Regions from separate parts of the Homo sapiens genome. Here regions 1, 2, 3, 4, 5 and 7 are each linked to region 6. Evidence: promoter capture Hi-C in 16 types of primary human blood cells and fetal thymus (Javierre and others, 2016). All regions are on one chromosome and are shown on one strand. Each heading gives the region's core, a stretch centred on a gene start or on the middle of the fragment in contact. The rest is flanking DNA. Distances are from core to core; before and after follow the strand shown. Region 1 overlaps BCAT1 (branched chain amino acid transaminase 1). Region 2 overlaps IRAG2 (inositol 1,4,5-triphosphate receptor associated 2). Region 3 overlaps BCAT1 (branched chain amino acid transaminase 1). Region 4 has its middle 85 kb from the start of KRAS. Region 5 holds the start of DNAI7 (dynein axonemal intermediate chain 7). Region 6 holds the start of C2CD5 (C2 calcium dependent domain containing 5). Region 7 overlaps DNAI7 (dynein axonemal intermediate chain 7).

Region 1 (2,700 bases), core at 58-2,557, 2.4 Mb before region 6:
GCCAGAATAATAATGAAAATATTAGTAATGTAAAACAAGGAAATGTGTCATGTTTTTCATGATAACTAATATTTTTTCAATTTTTTTTTTTTTTTAAGACAGTCTCACTCTGTCACCAGGCTGGAGTCAGTAGTGCGATCTTGGCTCACTGCAACCTCCACCTCCCAGGTTCACACAATTCTCATGTCTCAGCCTCCTGAGTAGCTGGGTTTACAGGCACTCGCCACCATGCCCAGCTAATTTTTGTATTTTTAGTAAAGACAGGGTTTTACCATGTTGGCCAGGCTGGTCTCAAACTCCTGACCTCAGGTGATCGGCCGCCTTGGCCTCCCAAAGTGCTGGGATTACAGGCGTGTGCCACTGTGCCTGGCCCCAGTTCTTATTATAAGTTCTCCATTAACCATATCATGAGATTAAAAAAACAACAATGATTTCATCGGAACTGACAAATAGTGGGTGACACAATTTTGATCATCAAGAAGACTTTAAAAGAAGGATTTGTATCACTGTCATTACTGATTACTTGGCCCTTGTGTATACTGGGCCTTTAGCTAGGGCTGGTACAATAAAATAACCATAGTTAGAAAGATATTTTAAAGGATTACTTATTTCATGTTTATCTCACCCTTTTATCCCTATTTTTGGGCATGATTTATTATTATTAGGTTTTTAAATAAATAATGAAATAAGCATGTTAGGTTTGCATGCTGCTTTGGTTAACATTGCTATATAACCAACCACCCCAAACTTTGTGGCCTTAAAACAATAATTTATTTATTTATTTATTTATTTATTTATTTATTTATTTATTTATTTTTGAGACAGAGTCTCGCTATGTCACCCAGGCTGGAGTGCAGCGGCATGATCTCGGCTCACTGCAACCTCCACCTCCTGGGTTCAAGTGATCCTCCTGCCTCAGCCTCCCGTAGAGCTGGGATTACAGGCACCCGCCATCAAGCCCAGCTAATTTTTCCTTTATTTTTAGTAGAGACGGGGTTTCACCATGTTGGCCAGGTTGGTCTCGAACTCCTGATCTCAGGTGATATGCCTGCTTTGGCCTCCCAAAGTGCTGGGATTACAGGTGTGAGCCACTGTGCATGGCCAACAATAATTTATTTTTATCTCTCATGGTCTCTAGATTGCCTGGGCCCGGCTGAGCAGTCTGAGTCAGCCTTATGGTCTCTCATGTGTTTTTAATCAGTCATGAGGGGCCGGCATCATCTGAAGGCTTGACTGGGCTGGATGTTTAAGACAGCCACTCACAGGGCTGACAGTGATGCTGGATGTTGCACTGTTGACTAATGAGCCTGCACGTGGCTCCTCCATGTGATTTGGGCTATTTATAGCTGGGGTGACTGGGTTCTAGGTGGGGTAGTTCCAAGATCCTTCCAAGAGGAAGAAAGCAGAAACTGCCTGGCCAGTTAGTGTATATGCTTAGTCTTAGAACAGTGTCACTTCCATATTTCTCCATAGTCCATTAATCAAAGCAGTTACAGGAAGCAGACAGACAGGAAGGGAAAACACAATGCAACAGAAGGAGAGATTGAAGTGTTGGCAGCTGCAAGCCAAGAAACACCTGGGTTACCAGAAGCTAGAAGAAGAAAGGTAGGATTCTCCCCTACAGGTTCCAAAGGAAGCTGGGCCTGTCCACACCTCACCTCTGGAACTATGAGACAATCACTTTCTGTGGGTTTAAGCTACCCAGTTTGTGGCACTTTGTTACTACCGTCCTAGGCAAATGATACAGTAACTACATACACAGTACATAGAATTGCTCATTTTACTTCGTTGAATGGGACTTGGCATTGAATAAGCCCAAATGAGAATTCTTTTGTCAAGATTTTTTTATGGCTCACTTTTCCAGAGACGTGACATGGCAGGAGTAAGGGGAGGGTTTGGCAGGTAGGAATTATACTCATCTGTCATTGTCTTCCCAATACCAACCAGGAAGCATGTAAATAATAGCTGTGCAGTTTGTTTTCTGAACCAAACTGGGCCTTATTTTTTTTAAAGAAACTTTATTAAACAAACAAAAACCTAGAAACACTAGATGTATATTTTTAAGGTTTCTCTCACATAATATCCTAATCATCAGTATACCGTAATCCAAGGGCTACATATAACTGAAAAATAAATGGGTCTTAAAAAAATTAAAACATGGTATATAACACTAGCTAACATGTACTGAGCAGTTACTAAGTGCTAAGTACTGCTAAGTCCTTTATAGATATCTTCATGTTGAGTGTCGTCACTGCCCATTACTTACTCTGAGTTTAAATATGAGACTCAAAAGAGGTTAGTAATTTGCCAAAAGTCATAGGGCTTATAAGTGATAGAACCAGGATAACGAATCTCAACCAAGGGACTTCAATGCCCAAACCGGTGCTCAGACTGTAGCCCCATGTAGTTAGCTATTTACATTTGAAAAAATTTTTAATGTTTATTATTTTTTTTAAGACAGGGTCTTGCTCTGTCACCTAGGCTGGAGTGGAGTGGTGTGATCTTGGCTCACTGCAACCTCCACCTCCTGGGCTCAAGTGATCCTCTCATCTCAGCCTCCCAAGTAGCTGGGACCACAGGTGTATGGCACCACGCCCAACTAATTTGTTGTGTTCTTGGTAGAGGTGAGTTTCACCATGTTGCCCAGGCTGGTCTTGAACTCCTGAGCTCAAGTGACCTGCCCACTTGCCTCACCCTCCT
Region 2 (2,700 bases), core at 173-2,672, 2.5 Mb before region 6:
ATCTGAAGATCGGGAACAAGAAACTGAATGGCTTTGTCACTGAAATCTGTAGGCAGAGGCTAAAGAAGCTTGTTAGAGATGCAACTCAGAGTAGTGAAAATGGTGTCTGTGAAAATTTGATAGCTATAAAATTATTGCCTTAATCCAAGAGGTAGATTCACATCTATCATAGTTATATTATAATAGAAAATGTTGTTGGTGTTCTTGAGATGATTAAAGCATCTTTAGATATGGAGGTTTTTCCAGCTCAACTTATTGCAGAGGGCTTTTCAGGCACTCTGCCTAGCTTAATCTTCCACATGGTTTTTTTTTTCCTGCTTTAACAGATGTGTCTGCATGATGCCCTAGAAACAGATACATGCAAATATCACCCTTCTTTCTTTCCTCCTCCATCATCTTCCTCCAGTGCCAACCTTGCTGCCTTGCTGTTCCCTTATGTTCTTCATTTCTGAACAAAAAGGAGATTCACCAAGTATCACAAGGGAAGGAAATACACTTTACCAGGGATATCTTGAGATGACCCATACAGAAAGAAATAGAAAGTTTAATTCAAATATGAGAAAGAAAAAAGAGACAGTAACCATCAAAGCCTATTCAAGAATACTCAAAATTTCAGCATATTATAAATTGAATGATATGCCCTTACTATCAGAAAGGAGGTCCCCAAGACTGAAAAACTGGCTGTTCGCTAATAGATATAGTGGTGGGGCAAAGAAAATTCTGAAATGCTTCCTCTCTAGAAGATATTATCAGTAGCCACTCACTAATGTAAGATCTCCTTTCTTATTTTGCTAAATACTTTAAGTGCAGAAGAGAACAAAGTCCACCAAAACATTTTCTTCTAAACTGGTTATTTAATTTAATGATTAAAGTCATTGTCTGTTATAAATTAGCTTCAAAACCTTACATGAATTGAACAACTTCCTCCACAGTAACTGAACACATATCAGAGATATTTTACCTGAAACAGCAAGCCATGGTGTTCCCCTTCAATGAACTCCTTTTGAAGTGACTCAATTGTTGCTACAAAGAGAATTTATAACCAGCTCAATATGACCATTTTAATTTAATTAATTAATGAATTTATTTCAAGACAGGATTTGGTTCTATTGCCCAGATTGGAGTGCAGTGGCATGATCTCACCTCACTGCAAACTCTGCCTCCTGGGCTGAAGCCATCCTCCTGTTTCAACCTCCCAAGTAGCTGGAATTACAGGCACATGCCACCCACACTCAGCTAGTTTTGGTATTTTTTGTAGAGATGGGTTTCACCATGTTGTCTAGACTGGTCTCAAACTCCTGAGTTCAGGTGATCCACCCACCCCGGCCTCCCACAGTGCTGGGATTACAGGCATGAGCCACTATGCCCAGTATGAGCATATTTAACCTTGTCTCCTTTAATTCATTTCATTGCTTCAAAAACTTTTAATGGCTTTAAATTTGGGGCCTCAAGAAAAGGAAAGGGAAAATAATGATTTCTGAGAATGGCACTCTCAACTTATGACTCGGGAAAAATGGAAAACCAGGCTAGAACAGATAAGCCATTATCTCCCTTGGGTATTTAAATTTTACTTTGATAGATACATGTGAATTGTCTTCTAGAAGTGAGTCACAGAATTGTCTAATCTTAAGCTAAGAATACATCTTAGGCCTGGTGCAGTGGCTCACACCTCTAATTTCAGCTCTTTGAGAGACCAAGGTGGGTGGATCATTTTAGGCCAGTACTTTGGGACTAGCCTGGCCAACAGGACAAAACCCCATCTCTACTAAAAAAAAAAAATACAAAAATTAGCTGGGTGTGGTGGCGCATGCCTGTAATCCTAGCTACTTGGGAGGCTGAGGCAGGAGAATCACTTGAACCTGGGAGGTGAAGGTTGCAGTGAGCCAAGATCATGCCACTGCACTCCAGGGCGAGACTCCCTCTCAAAAAAAAAAAAAAAAAAAAAAGAAAATACATTTTAGAGGTCATTCAGTCTGACCTCCTACTGATAAAGAAATCCTATCTCCAATAAGCCTCTGCTTGAGCCCTCAAATTACAGCCCTAGGATCCCAGAATCCTACAAGTAGATCTCAGATCATGAGAACACTGATGTGCAGACGATTGAAAAGGTAACTGGTAAATCATGGAGCTGAGATTAGACTCATGGAACAGAGCTTAACTCAGGGTATCATTCTGTGAAACTAAAAATATTTGTTTTTCTGCTTAAGTAAAATCTCTAAAGGTCTTATGCCTGGAATAATGGAAATGGGGGAAAAGTACCTAATATTTAACTAGCTCTTTGATGTACATAATAACATATTATTTATTTGACAAATCCTACTCTCTGAAACATAGCCAAAACCAGAAAATAAACCCAAATCTTTTGAACAACTAGAATAGATACTGATATTTATGCCCTTTATTCACGTGGCAAACCTCACACTTCAACTCAAGCAGTGGGCTCTGGGTATATACATAATTTTCACCAGTTTGACTGCCTTCTCAGCCCAAAGAAGATTAAAAGCAAAACTTAAACAAGGATATAAGGAGCTCTGCTAGATGGAAGCATATTAATAGCTACCACTTTTTTTTAAAATCACTAACAGCCAGGAAAATTATTAACAGCAGATACTCTGGCATCCAAAATACATAGAAATCTGGTGCTTCTTATTTTATAAACCAACAGTTTTATATCTTAATAGCCTGGAGAAATTCTGAGTC
Region 3 (2,700 bases), core at 160-2,659, 2.3 Mb before region 6:
TTGCCACAAGCCCTCACCATGTCATAAGGTATAATAAAGAACAGGTGAAATGAAGTGCTTTTATTTATTTATTTTTCAGACAGATTCTTGCTCTGTCACCCAGGCTGGAGTGCAGTGGCACGATCGTGGCTCACTGCAGCCTCAAACTCCTGGGCTCAAGCAAACCTCGTACCTCAGCCTCCTGAGTAGCTGGGACCACAGACACATGTCACCATGTCTGGCTAATTTTTACATATTTTGTTGAGACTGGGTTTTGCCATGTTGCCCAGGCTGGTCTCAAACTCCTGGGCTCAAGCAATCCTCTTGCCTTGGCTTCTTCAAGTGCTGGGATGACAGCCATGAGCCACTGCTCCTGGCTATGTGCTTTTAAATTTGAAAGGAATAATATGCCCAAGCCCAGGTCACTGGTTCTCAAACTTAATGTGCATCAGAATCAGCTGGCTACATCTCCAGAGTTTCTCATTTCTAACAAGTGTCCAGATCATGTTAATTTTGTCGCTCCAGGGACCACATTTTGGGAATTGCTGGCCTATGGGAAGTAAATGAGAAATGATTTAATGTCATTTTTGGAAGTTAAAAAAGATTTTGGTGGTCACTGGTTTTTGAAAACTCTTTGAAGGCTGGGTGGGGTGGTTCACATCTGTAATTTCAGCAGTTTCGGGGAGATGGGGTTCTTGGGAAATGAGCCCTCCACCCATGGGATCTGATGCTATTTCCACGTAGATAATGTCAGAGTCGTTCAAACCAGAGTGACTCCATCCTGAATAGGGGCTGGGTAAAATAAGGCTGAGACCTACTGGGCTGCAACATGATGAGACCCTGACTCTATTGAAACAAAACAAAACAAAACAAAACAAAACAAAACAAAAAACGGCCAGGCGAGGTGGCTCACGCCTGTAATACCAGCACTTTGGGAGGCCAAGGCGGGCGGATCACGAGGTCAGGAGATCGAGACCATCCTGGCTAACATGGTGAAACCCCATCTCTACTAAAAATAGAAAAAAAAAAAAAAATTAGCCGGGCGTGGTGGCAGGCGCCTGTAGTCCAAGCTACTTAGGAGGCTGAGGCAGGAAAATGACGTGAACCCAGGAGGCGGAGTTTGCAGTGAGCCGAGATCACGCCGCTGCACTCCACACTGGGTGACAGAGCAAGACTCCATCTCAAAAAAAAAAAACAAAAACCTCTTTGGCCATCTATTTAGATGAGTTGGAATGCTACTTTGATTGGTTTTGCCAATTTAGATTTTTGTAATTAGGGTAGTTTAAAAAAACTCTCAAATTACTGTTATCCTTTGTTAAAAACCAAAATCTTTTATTATTAGTCTTCTGCTTACAATATAAGTAAAATAAATGTTTTGTATTAATAACTGGATTGTATATTGCATGGTTACCACTATGTAACAAAATTAATAGCTTAAAATTACAAGCGTCATTTTAAAATTATTTTTCATGTTTCTGGGGTTGACTAGGATGGCTAAGTGGTTTTTGCTTGGGGTCCGTCACACGGTTGCTGTCAGTGGCTGGGGTTAGAGTCAGCTCACAGGCTTCCTAACTCATATGGTGCTGGAGGGAGTGTCTCTTAGCATGCTAATGCTTCATAATTTGTGTATAATGAACAGTGAGGATGACCAGAGGTCACTTTCATTGCCATCTGGGCTGCAAAACTCAAGGAGTTGAAGGCTCTTCCGGCATTACTTGTTCTCCATGTGGTCTCCTCAGGATGGCAGTCACAGAGTAGGCAGCCTTCTTATGTGCTGACCTAGGGCCCAAAATCTGTATGTGTCAGTTGACTGAGCCCAGATGGAAGCTCTATTGCTGTTTACGCCCTAGCCTCAAAACTACTCTTTCAAGAAAAATTCTCCAACCGAGTTTTTCCTCTACTCTCACACCACCACAACAATAGTCAACATAGGAGACTTCTATGATCAAAGGTGTAGGGATTTCTCCCCACCACCAAGCAGTGAACCCCAGCTGGGTGTCCTCCAATTCAATTCTCACACTGTTATTACGGGAAAGGTGTCCCAATCCAGTCCCCAAGAGGTTCTTGGATGTTGCACAAGAAAGAATTTGGGGAGAGTCCACAAAGTAAAATAAAATTTATTAAGAAAGTAAAGGAAAAAAAGAATGGCTACTCCGTAGACAGAGGAGCTCCGAGGGCTGCTGGTTGGCTATTTTAATGGTTATTTCTTGATCATTTGCTAAAGAAGGGGTAGATTATTCATAAATTTTCCAGAAAAGGGATGGGCAATTCCTGGAACTGAGGGTTCCTCCCCTTTTTAGACCTTGTAGGTTAACTTCCCACCATTGCCATGGCCTCTGTAAATTGTCGTGACACTGGTAGGAGTGTCTGTTAGCATGCTAATGCATTATAATTAGCTTATAATGAGCAGCGAGGACGGCCAGACATCCCTTTCATTGCCATATGGGATTTGGCAGGTTTTGGCTGGCTTCTTTACCACATCTTGTTTTATCAGTGGGGTCTTTGTAACCTGTATGTTGTGCCGACCTCCTATCTCATCCTGTGACCTAGAATACTAACCTCCTGAGAATGCAGCCCAGTAGGTTTCAGCCTTATTTTACCCAGCCCCTAATCAGGATGGAGTCGCTCTGGTCCAAACACCTCTGACATTATCCACCTGGAAATAGTGTCAGATCCCATGGGTTAAGGGCTCATTCCCCAAGACCCTAACCACCCTCACCT
Region 4 (2,700 bases), core at 36-2,535, 2.8 Mb before region 6:
TCTCTTTTGCACTTAACACTATCTAACCATCTACTTATTTTTCTTATTATCAGTAAGAAACACTTGATGAAATCTTAGATGTCTTTGATAATAAGATGCAACATTATTTTTGTATCACAAGAAAAGAAAAACAGCTGCCAATTACAAATGTAAGATGGTACTAAGTCAGATTACAATTTCAGAGATTTTGAAGTGTGAAAAATTGTCCATCTTACATTTGATGAAATAAAGTATTTTCTTTATTGTTTTTCTCTCTCACTAAAATGCAAATTTCCATATGGATGTGGATTTTTTTTTTTTTGAAATGGGGTCTCGCTGTGTTGGCCGGGGTGGTCTCAAACCCCTGGTGTCAAGCAATCCTCCCGCCTTGACCTCCCAAAATGTTGGGGTTACAGGTGTGAACCACTGCACCCAGCCTAGATATGGATTTTTATGTTTGGTTCACTGCTGTATTATCTGGCGCGTGGTAGATGTTTAATAAATATTTGTTGAATAAATGTTCAAGAACTAATAAAAAAAGAATAAATAATAGACTCCTATATGAGCAGAGTATATCTGTTCTAATTGCCTTAGAAGATTGAAATCTAAGAAGAAAAAGATCATAGAGGATGTCAAAGCTTGATCTGAATTTCCTAGAGTTTTCTGAAACCTCTAGAGAAGATGAGAGACCAATATTAATTCCATAAGTGCTACTGATGTTCTCAGGTTGAATGCATGCAAAGGCCATCCAACCTCAGTTAAAGATTTTCCTAGAATATTCTCTGCCTCCAAAGCTTAACCTAACAAGCTCCATCTTACTCAGATTCTCAGCTCAAGCATCACCTTCTCAGAAAGGAGTTCCGAGACTGCACGATCTAGAAAAAGTAGCCACCAGCACCACCTATCCCAGCTCTACCCATTCATCTCTATCTCATCACCTTGTTGTCTTTTATTCGTAGTACTTTTCACTATATGAAGTTATAGCATGTGCTTAGAACTGTGTCTGAAACAGAAAGTGCTTAATAATTAGCTGTTGAACCAATGTACATGGAGTGTTTGGATCCCTCAAAACTCTTCTCCCTCCCATCCTGACCTAAAAAAGTTCTAGAGAGTTCTATTGTTAAAGTCATTCCTTTTAGTAAAGTTATAAATATTCAAGAAATCTGATTATAAAGCAAATGTGATATTTGGACAAAGATAACATTAGCCGAGGGGTACCCATTAACACCTTGATAAATGCCACTTTTCCTGATGAGCGATTTTTATCTAATTAGAAAAAACAAAGCCCTGAGTGATGGGGAGAAGTTGGCTAGATGGCTTAGAGTAAGACTGGTGGAGTTCAGAGCAGCGACTGTGAAAGTGAGAATCCCAAGAAGCTAGTTTCCTGGACCTGAATGTGAGAAGGGGCAGGGGCATTAAATGGCTGAGTTTGACCTCTCTAACCTTTTGTCTAGGATTTGACCAAGCCCAGTGGCTACTTATCCTCCCTTCTCTTCCCTGTGCCTTCACCCTGTGATTTTCTCATCACCTTTTACATTCATCTACTAAGAAAGAATGCTTTCTATGCATTTTAGTTTCTTTTTCCTTCCAAAAAGGATCATCCAGTATATTATTTGTATAATGCAATCTTAGATCTACAAATTTTTCTAATGTCGACCTACAATTTTCTTGCTGTAGCTCATTCTGCCTTTGCACTATCTGTAAAGGAAAGAAAATGTCTGTTTAGTATATACTTCATAGAATATCTCTTCCTATATTTAAAGATCCTTAAATTCTACACTTCATAGGTCAGCTGAAGAATTTTTAAAATAAGCTTTATTTGCTTTATAAGGGGGCCAGTTATTGGAAGAACTTCAACCAGTATTTAAAAGCCAACTTTAGTCAAACCACTTTGTCTAGACACTTCACCTCAGTTTTCTGCAGTTTAAATATCCCACATCTTTAAGCCTTTCCCTATGGGGCCTCTTTCACAGAACTTTAATTAGTTTTGTGGTTCTTTCATAAAGTCATCTCAATTCTTTTTTCCCCCTCTGGTAATGAAAGCTTTTTTCCTCTAATATAAAAGCTTTCCAACCAATGGATTTCGTTTGAATCTCTGGATATCCAAAGCATGCATTTATATCCTCACTGAAGAAAATTATATAACTTTCTATTTTTCTTCTATGTACCTTTAAGTGATTTATTTTTTCGCCTATAATTTTATTATGCTAATCAGCTCATAAACATGGTCAGAGTGTGTGCCCTAGACCTAGACTATTCAAAATTCAGTAAGAAGAGAAAAGAGAGAGAGAGAGACAGAGACAGAGAGATTAGAAAGAAATATTTAAAATGTGTTGTTAGGATAACTTTGTGATTACTCAGGGATAGAGAATTTAAAATTTCAAATATAGACAGCCTAATAGGTACTAAAAGCCTAGAATTGTGCATTTATATTAATTCTAAGTGAGTATTTTTTTTGGCGTCTTTGAAAGAGAATTTTCTGTGTAAAAATGATTATTTTGAACTTTTAAATTAAAATGACAAGTTCTAAACAGTAGCTCTTCATTAAGGTGTTAAATTCAAAGAATTATTCAAAAGTCCAGTAATTAATAACAATTATATTTAGGGGCCATCAATTATGTTTAATCTCATTTAAAGATAAAGGGGCTCCTTCGAATACCTTAAACTCTATAGATTTAAACATTCATTTTCTTTTCAACACTGTAATTGTCTGTTCTAACA
Region 5 (2,700 bases), core at 193-2,692, 2.7 Mb before region 6:
TTTTTCCCCCTGTCATTCTAGGCTAAGGAGTTAGGACTTAACCAGTTCCAGTTCCAGGCTAATGGAAAATTGTCATTTTACTGGGGGTTATGTGGTGGCCAAAGTTGTTAATCATTGTTCCCCATGGGGTAGATACAGTGAGAGCTTCAGTAAAGCCTTTCCTCTAAAAGCCCACTATTTTAAGGTAACTTGGGATTACTGAACTATCTCCTTACCCCGATGAATCCTAACTTGAGTTGACTGAGGTGTTTTATCATTAAACATTAGTTTTACTGAAACTAATTTAAAAGGAAGCCTTAACTTTCATATCAAACAGCTATGGTAAACTGAGTAAGAACTCTGTACGAAGTCGCTATTAAAATGTTTTTATCTTGCTACCAGGATATGGATGTAAAATGCTAATAACTATTACACAACCTATAATAGTTACAGGTTACAATAGGGATAATAACACTTTAACCCACAAAGACTAGCTTAGTCCTACTACTTATCTATGAATAATGCATGTAGTCAATAACACTGGAAGGGATAGAGCATTATAAACTTATAATTCAGAGATGAGAAATGGTGCCAGTAATTTAAAAGTATTTCAGGTCTCATAATGCTAAAACAGGGTGTAGGTATGCCCTACAATTACAGAGAACTCAGTCGGGCTTGAGGAGAACAGCCTCACTTAATTGTAGTTTTCCTGTCGGTGTAAGGTGCCGGCGTTTCTTCATGTGGGAGGAGACTGAAATTCTAAAGGTTGTGTGGTTAGTAAAATTAGTCTGTGACCTCGGGAAACTAATGAGTCTTTGGGGCCTCAGCGATCTTCATGTTAAGGAATATTTTAGCCAGGAATTGCTTCATTTTCAATTCTTGTTTAGGGCGCTCTTAGGAAAAAGGACGCGTACGCTGCACAGAAAGTAAACAATAGAGCAGAAAGAAGAATCCGAAGGTCATTAATCTTAAAATAACCAACCCTCTGGAGCCAACTTATTTCTCTCTTTAAATTGCGGAATGAGCCCCATCCCCCTGCTGGATTAAACCGCAGAGGCCCAGGCCTCCCACCGGGTGTCCGCTGCATGAACCAGTCGCATGCCTGTTTCCTTCTCGAAACCCTCACAGAAAGACCCAACACACTCTAGGAAATAAACCGTCAACGTCAGGAGACGCTCAGAACCCTCTTCCCACACCCGGTGGTCCTCGCCCAGAGCATATTTCGCCTCCAGACCCCAGGATCCGGGAAATGGAACAAAACTCCCCGGCGGCGGCACTCACGCACTTTCCGGCACGCCGGAGCCGCAAAAGCCTCGACCGCTACGACTCCTCTGTCCGTCTACTGCGAAGCGGGGTGGCGTTGGGGGAGGTGGGCAACCTGTCAGTAAAGGGGGCGGGGCGCCGGCCGGAAGAGCCTCCGCGCGGCTGCGCTCTTTTCCTGGAGCTCAAGTGGGCGGGGCCTGTCGTCCGGGCAACCCGGGAGCGTTTGTCCACACAATTTCTGCTCCGACTCTGCGGACTACTGCAGTGGAGCTTGACTCTTAATGGTGAGCAAGGCAAATGAGGCAGACAGGTGGAGGGGCGACCACTGATTCTGCTTCACCAGTGTTAAATAATGTAATCAAGAGCCAGTCATATTTTACAGCGAAGCGGGTCGGTTTGGGAAATAACTCATACCTTGGGGTGGGTCGGCCCTCTTCTCAGCAATGGCTTTCCTTACCTGGACCAGGCGGACAGGTAGGAGTCCCAAACCAGTTTCTGCAAACGGGAGATGGTCAAAGCTGTCACACGGTATCCTGATCTCGAATGTTGCTAAGCTTGAAAATTGGTCCCAACCTAGTAACTTTCAGTAGTGATAGACGTTCCCACTAAATTTTCTTATTGCAACTTGGCGGAAATGTTTTAGTACTTCTCCAGCAGTTAATTAAAAGCTAATGCAATTTACTCTGCTTTGAAAAAATATTTTATGTCGTCTTTTGTGGGAATATGAATTGTTTTGTGATTCAAGGTTCTCATCCTGCATTAGTTAAATATGATAAGGCTTCTCATTTTGTTTTTCTGCACTCCTCAACTGCCATGTTTTCAGCAAGGAGACAGGCCAACATGTAGCTATGAGAGTATCTCTGATTTTCTTAAATGTGGTTTCCATCAAGACATTTTCTATAATTAAAACCAGAGGAAGTGGAGAATGTAATTACTTATTTAATTCATTAATTAAGGGAAAAATGTGGAGTGCATTCTTTGTACTTGGCACTGGGCTAGAAGCCAAGAATACCAAGAAGAACATGACGACAACTCTGCTTATAGGATACAGATTAAACAAATTAATTACAATACAGCTTTACAACTGTAACAATTGAAGCATCTAAAATGGGGTAACACACAGTTGGAAATGATGAAATTTCAGTGAGGGGAAACAAGGGAAGGAGAGTGGTGCTTTTCAACCTGTTTTAAAGTATAAATACGAGTTTTCCACATATGGTGGGAAGAAATAGGGAGTGGAGGCCTGGCGCGGTGGCTCACCCCTGTAATCCCAGCACTTTGGGAGGCCGAGGCGGGCAGATCACGATGTCAGGAGTTCGAGACCAGCCTGGTCAACATGGTGAAACCCAGTCTCTACTAAAAATACAAAAATTAGCCGGGCGTGTTGGCGCGCACCTGTAATTCCAGCTACTCAGGGGGCTGAAGCAAGAGAATCGCTTGAACCTGGGAGGCGGAGGT
Region 6 (2,700 bases), core at 188-2,687:
TTGATATTTGGTAAGGACTGATTTATTTACATCTTGTGTGTGCCTCAATTTCCCTAATATGGTCTGAGCCTGTAGATAACACCTTACTTTATTTATAGTTGGGTCAATTCTTCAAGATGTTTAACGCTCTCCATGTTTATTTCTTGTGGTTGACTATACTTTCCATGGTAGGAAGTCCTGAACTTCTGCTACTACTGTAGGTCTTATCTTTAGGCTTGTGGATGCTTAATAAGAACACTGAGATGATCTAAGAGTGCAGGACATTTAATTAAAAAAAAATTTTTTTTAAGAGACAGAGTTTTGCTCTGTTGCCCAGGTTGGGGTGCAGTGGTGAGATGGCAGCTCACTGCAGCCTCAAACTCCTGGGCTCAAGCAATTCTCCCAGATTCTCCCACCTCAGCTTCCTAGGTAGCTGAGACCACAGACGAGCCACCGGCCCAGCTAATTTTTGCATTTCTTGTAAAGAAGGGGTCTTACTGTGTTGCCTCGTCTCCATGAGGCTGGTCTCGAACTCCTGGACTCAATCGATCCTCCCACCTCAGCCTCCCACAGTGCTGGGATTACAAATCTGAGCCACCACACCTACCAGCAGAAACTTTTTTTCAAGAGGAGACTTTGGATTTCAAGGTGACCTCCCCCACCCCGCCCACAGTAATATCTGTGACCCAGTGCACAACACAAGTGCCTATGACTGAATAAAATATTTCACTAAATATTTATTTCACTATTCGAGATGTGCCTGGTATCTCTATTTCTTTCTTTCTTTTTTTTCTTTTTTTGGAGACAGAGGAGTGATCTCGGCTCACTGCAACCTCCGCCTCGCAGGTTCAAGCGATTTTCCTGCCTCAGCCTCCTGAGTAGCTGGAATTAGAGGCGCTCGCCACGACGCCCAGCTAATTTTTGTATTTTTAGTAGAGACGGGGTTTCGCCATGTTGTCCAGGCTGGTCTTGAACTCCTGACCTCAGGTGATCCGCCCGCCTCGGCCACCCAAAGTGCTGGGATTACAGACGTGAGCCACTGTGCCTGGCCATCTAACTCTATTTCACAGAAAACTGGAACCACCACACGCACCTGTACCCCTTCCAAGTAGAAACCAGCTAATTTGGTTTTACGAATCACTAAAGGCCGACTGAAAACGCTCTTCTAGCAGTCTTCGCTGCTACTCCATCTATCACAGCCCATCCGAAAAGCGGCGGTAGCAGCTGGGAAGGCCGCGGCCGGAGGCTGTCACAGAGCAGCACTCGCGCTTCGGCCCGCAAGATGGAGCGTTTCCCTCCAGGGAAGCAGCGCCGCACCTATCCACAGCCCCCACTCGGTGGATGATGCAGGACTCGGCCCATTTCCCTGCCCTCCAGCTTTCTCAACGTCAGCCCCGCCCCCTTATCTTTCCTCGGCGAGTTTAGTTTCGCCCCGCCAAGTGGGCAGAGCGCCGAACGATCGATGCTTTCTTCCGCGCCCCGAGAGCCGCCATTTTTGAGAGCGGGGGAGGAGAGACAAGCAGGGGCGGCAGAGGCTCAACGGGATGCTGACTGGGTTTTGCTTTTCGTCCCAGCCTTGTGGGGCCGGGACGGAAGAACCCATCAAAGCCCTTCCTCCCGCCGCCTCTCCGGAATGAGGTCTCAGCACCCGCGCGGGACAGCACCCTTCCTCCTGCGACAGTGAGTGGCGACCCGTGGCGCGACTGCCGGGCGCCCGCGCGCGCCCCCGCGCGCTCCTTCGCTGTCAGTTACCCCGCGCGCCTCCGCCCCTCTCCCGCCGGCCCCGCGCTCGGCGCAGACTCGTTTGTTTGTTTCTGCAGGAGCCCAAGAAGAGGCCGAAACCGAGACCATGCCAGGGAAGCTGAAGGTGAAAATCGTGGCCGGGCGCCATTTGCCAGTGATGGACCGTGCTAGTGACCTGACTGATGCCTTCGTGGAGGTTGGTGCAGGGTCCTGCCCCTCAAAACACAGGGAGCGCCAAGCCCTGTGAAGGATCTACCCACCTCGCCCCCAGCCCCTCAGCCTATTCCCCCCTCGACTGCCCTCCCTTCGGCCGTGGTTGTCCAGCTCTCCCACGAGGGATGACCGCCGAGACCTCAGTGTGTGCGATGGGTGCACGGCTTGCAGGCGTCCGCGGCACAGTCCGCTGCGCGGGGAGGCTTGTACTGTTGTGCATGCGGGGGTGACCCTGATGTCAGGACTCATTAACAGGCCACCTGCCACTCAGGAGATCCCAAGGCGTGGCCGCGCAGCCACCGACACACTCACACACATACACACACACACACACAAATGCCGGAATGACTCTGATGTCAGGACTCATTAACAGGCCACCTGCCACTCAGGAGATCCCAAGGTGTGGCCCCGCAGCCACTGAAACACACACACACACAGGCACACACACACCCTTGGAAGGGGTGGCCAGAGTGCTGGACATCATGTTTAAGAAGGTGCATGAAGCCCTTTATGGGCACTTGGAGTCCCACAGTGCGAGGAAATCCACTCTCATGCCTAACATTTTGTGAATCTGCCATGCACGTTCTAAAACACAACTGCAACACTTCCTGCTCTTGTATAGGCTGGTAGGTCTGATGAGGTGTTTCAGGGTAATTTAGCGCCTTGAGGTAGGAAGTCATTTAATTGCCATGGACTTAAATTGCAAAATTGCTTTTTAAGTCTAATGATTAGTTTAAAAGTCATGCAAATTAGTAAAGGCCTACG
Region 7 (2,700 bases), core at 170-2,669, 2.6 Mb before region 6:
GCATAACTTTGGAAATAATATAGGTGAATATCAGGAGAAAAATGAAAAACTATTATAATATGGCTAAAGATTGTGGTATAATCAAGTGAAAAATTCTAAGTACAGTACAATATGATTACAAATGTGAAATTTGCATAAACTACAAAATGAATGGAAGGCCTTCTACTAAAATGCCAGTGGCAACTAGACATTAGTAATAACTTGGGAAGTAGAAATTAGCCTAAGTGTTGGCCTTTGCAAATAAGCAGCTCTATGATTAGAGAGGAAAACTAAGCAAAACAAAACTACTTATAAATAATGCTTTAAAAATAAAAATGTGAAAGTATTTTAGTGCTTCTATGTATCTGAATATTAAGGATTAGAAGTTACTTGGATAAAGAAGAACTTGGTTATTTTAGAGCTCTCTCAAGTTACTGGTTAAAGCCATCATGTTTTTATCTAAGTTGGTTAAACTAGGTTATAAAAATTCACCTTCAAAAAAGAAGTCATTTAATCTTTGGTTGAATCTTCATCAATGTGAACCTTTAAACATTTTTATTCCACAGTGGAAGCACTACATTCAATGTGATGGGAGTCCTGATCCTTCAGTAGCCCAAGAAATGAACACGTTTATTAGTTTGTGGAAAGAGAAAACAAATGAGACTTTTGAGGAAGTGATTGAGAAGAGTAAAGTAGTGCTAAATGTAGGTATTTATGCATTTTCCTATAAACTGGCTATTACAAATAGTCTGATATTAACTCAAAATAAAAATTAATATATCATTTGCCAAGTAATAACACTACTGCTTTTGAACCCTTAGCAAAAGAAGTAATTGGTAATCTTTTCATTTTCTTTTTTCTTTTTTACAAGTCCTAAGAATTCCTTGCCATATTAGCTAAGGTCAGCATATCATAAAACATTGATTATTTGTCTGTCTAATCAAGAAAAAAAAATCAAGTTGCATGCATTCATGTAGATAACTCGGGTGGGGGTAGTGGGTAATTTTATCCTCAGTTGGAATATCCACTGTTCAGTAATTTAGTACCCATGATTTTTCATGTTTACTAGGTGCCAGGTATACACTCTGTTAGACAGTGGGGGTACAAAGACAAATCAGAATATTCTAACTTTTGTTCCTGCAAATAGGATGGTTAGACTAGCCTGAGAAGCTGCCACTTTACAATGCACTTAAAAATACTGGGGGAAAAAAAACTAATTTATTAAAAAAAATTTAAATTCATTGCTTTAATCAAAAAAAGTAAGGTAAAACCTTAGAGGCCATAAAACAATCCAGAAAGTAAGAAGGTCTTGAAGCCATGGCTTCATAGCTAACTAGTTAGTGGCTTAGCTAGCTAACTGCTATGGCTTAGCATTGGTTCAAAGGGCCATCAGGAGGCAAAGCCTAGAGTACATACAAGGTGGTAAGTTGAACCAGAGACTCCTGTATGGCTGGGAGCCTCAAAAGACATTATGGATAACAGGAAAAATTTATTGTGCAAAAGGAGATAAGATGCGTTTGGCTTATCTTTAGCTTAGTGAATAAGAAACAAAAATGTCTCCACTAAGAATTTTTATTTATTTATTTATTTAATTAATTTTTTGAGACGGCATCTCGCTCTGTCACCCAGGCTGGAGTGCAGTGGCGTGATCTCGGCTTACCGCAACCTCTACCTCCCGGATTCAACCAATTCTCATGCCTCAGCCTCCCAATAGCTGGAATTACAGTCATGTGCCACCACACCTGGCTAATTTTTGTATTTTTAGTAGAAATGAGGTTTCACCATGTTGGCCAGGATGGTCTCAAACTGCTGACCTCAAATGATCCAGCAGCCTCAGCTTCCCAAAGTGCTAGGATTACCACTGCACCTAGCCAAGAATTTTTAATGAGGAGTGAATCAAAAGTTGGATTGGAAAATTTACCAGAAGACAGCACAGAGACAAAGAGATAGAAAATATGAAAGAGCAGTTGACAGGCATGTATTATAGAGTAACAAGGGCTAAAAAAGAAAAGAAGGGATACAGAAGAATGGAAGAGAGACAATATTCAAAGAGATAATGGCTGAAAATTTTCCAGAATTGATGAAAGATGTGAATCCTCACATTCAGGAAGCTCAAGAAATTCTAAGTAAAACGAAAAACTAGCGTTTATACTTTTAACACTTCTGACACCAAATGTATGTGGGGTTTTCTCACACCAACCAATTATCCAACTCTCCAGATTCCTACTGAAGTGTCCTTCGATCCAGTGCTGGTACTGAGTACTTAGAGCTAGTGCAGACCCCCGTCCCACAAAACTGCCCTTTCCTTCACTTCCAATCACAAGTCCCAGCTTGTCACCTGTACTTCTGATCAGCCTGTTATAAATCAGCCACAAGCCATTGGTCAGGTTATTTGCTGTAATGGCTCACAAAACTCAGAGAAACATTTACTCGCCTTTACTGGTTTATTATAAAGGATATTACAAAAGATACAAGTGAAAAACTAGATGAAGAAATACAAGGGGTGAGGTCCGTAGGGAGGAGTGTAGAGCTTCCGTGCCCTCTTGGGGCACACCACCCTTCCAGCACCTCAATGTGTTCACCAACCGGAAAGTTCTCTGAACCTCGTTGTTTGAGTTTTTTATGGAAACCTCATTTATGTAGGCATGCTTGATTAAATCATTTGCCGTTGGCATTTAAGTTCATCTTCATCCCCTCTCCCCATCCTGGAGGCTAGGGAGT

Evidence for each region. The method cuts DNA at HindIII sites, captures the fragments that hold promoters and counts their contacts. A CHiCAGO score of 5 or more calls a contact.
Region 1: a fragment that was not itself captured here is called in contact with the fragment with the promoter of C2CD5 in region 6 in 2 of 17 cell types (M0 macrophages and M2 macrophages); the score reaches 11.2 in M0 macrophages.
Region 2: a contact is called between a fragment that was not itself captured here and the fragment with the promoter of C2CD5 in region 6, in 1 of 17 cell types (M0 macrophages). The highest score is 6.6, in M0 macrophages.
Region 3: a contact is called between a fragment that was not itself captured here and the fragment with the promoter of C2CD5 in region 6, in 1 of 17 cell types (M0 macrophages). The highest score is 8.8, in M0 macrophages.
Region 4: a contact is called between a fragment that was not itself captured here and the fragment with the promoter of C2CD5 in region 6, in 1 of 17 cell types (monocytes). The highest score is 5.1, in monocytes.
Region 5: a contact is called between the fragment with the promoter of DNAI7 here and the fragment with the promoter of C2CD5 in region 6, in 2 of 17 cell types (naive B cells and total B cells). The highest score is 6.0, in naive B cells.
Region 7: a fragment that was not itself captured here is called in contact with the fragment with the promoter of C2CD5 in region 6 in 1 of 17 cell types (monocytes); the score reaches 5.1 in monocytes.

What each region holds. Positions count from the first base shown.
Region 1 is chr12:24,908,495-24,911,194 of GRCh38, reverse strand. All of the region lies in intron 1 of BCAT1 (branched chain amino acid transaminase 1), which reads left to right. Among named protein-coding and RNA genes, the nearest start is that of BCAT1, 39 kb to the left of the region's middle. The HindIII fragment of the contact is 4,004 bases long and covers 1-2,700 here.
Region 2 is chr12:25,059,915-25,062,614 of GRCh38, reverse strand. IRAG2 (inositol 1,4,5-triphosphate receptor associated 2) reads right to left here. Exons shown (of 22, transcript NM_001366544.2): 2 at 962-1,023. Among named protein-coding and RNA genes, the nearest start is that of IRAG2, 8.6 kb to the right of the region's middle. The HindIII fragment of the contact is 2,704 bases long and covers 71-2,700 here.
Region 3 is chr12:24,890,229-24,892,928 of GRCh38, reverse strand. All of the region lies in intron 3 of BCAT1 (branched chain amino acid transaminase 1), which reads left to right. Among named protein-coding and RNA genes, the nearest start is that of BCAT1, 58 kb to the left of the region's middle. The HindIII fragment of the contact is 3,221 bases long and covers 1-2,700 here.
Region 4 is chr12:25,334,625-25,337,324 of GRCh38, reverse strand. No RefSeq gene overlaps it. Among named protein-coding and RNA genes, the nearest start is that of KRAS, 85 kb to the right of the region's middle. The HindIII fragment of the contact is 1,019 bases long and covers 776-1,794 here.
Region 5 is chr12:25,193,902-25,196,601 of GRCh38, reverse strand. DNAI7 (dynein axonemal intermediate chain 7) reads left to right here and starts at 1,442. Exons shown (of 16, transcript NM_018272.5): 1 at 1,442-1,526. The coding sequence starts at 1,524. ETFRF1 (electron transfer flavoprotein regulatory factor 1) reads right to left here and starts at 1,365. Exons shown (of 3, transcript NM_001001660.3): 1 at 1,265-1,365. RefSeq lists an enhancer at 1,005-1,124. The HindIII fragment of the contact is 2,518 bases long and covers 1-1,798 here.
Region 6 is chr12:22,543,279-22,545,978 of GRCh38, reverse strand. It overlaps C2CD5 (C2 calcium dependent domain containing 5), which reads left to right and starts at 1,437. Exons shown (of 27, transcript NM_001286176.2): 1 at 1,437-1,659; 2 at 1,800-1,918. The coding sequence starts at 1,829. RefSeq lists enhancers at 1,307-1,536, 2,677-2,700 and a silencer at 1,677-1,796. The HindIII fragment of the contact is 7,848 bases long and covers 1-2,700 here.
Region 7 is chr12:25,152,302-25,155,001 of GRCh38, reverse strand. DNAI7 (dynein axonemal intermediate chain 7) reads left to right here. Exons shown (of 16, transcript NM_018272.5): 6 at 546-683. Among named protein-coding and RNA genes, the nearest start is that of DNAI7, 42 kb to the left of the region's middle. The HindIII fragment of the contact is 2,905 bases long and covers 1-2,700 here.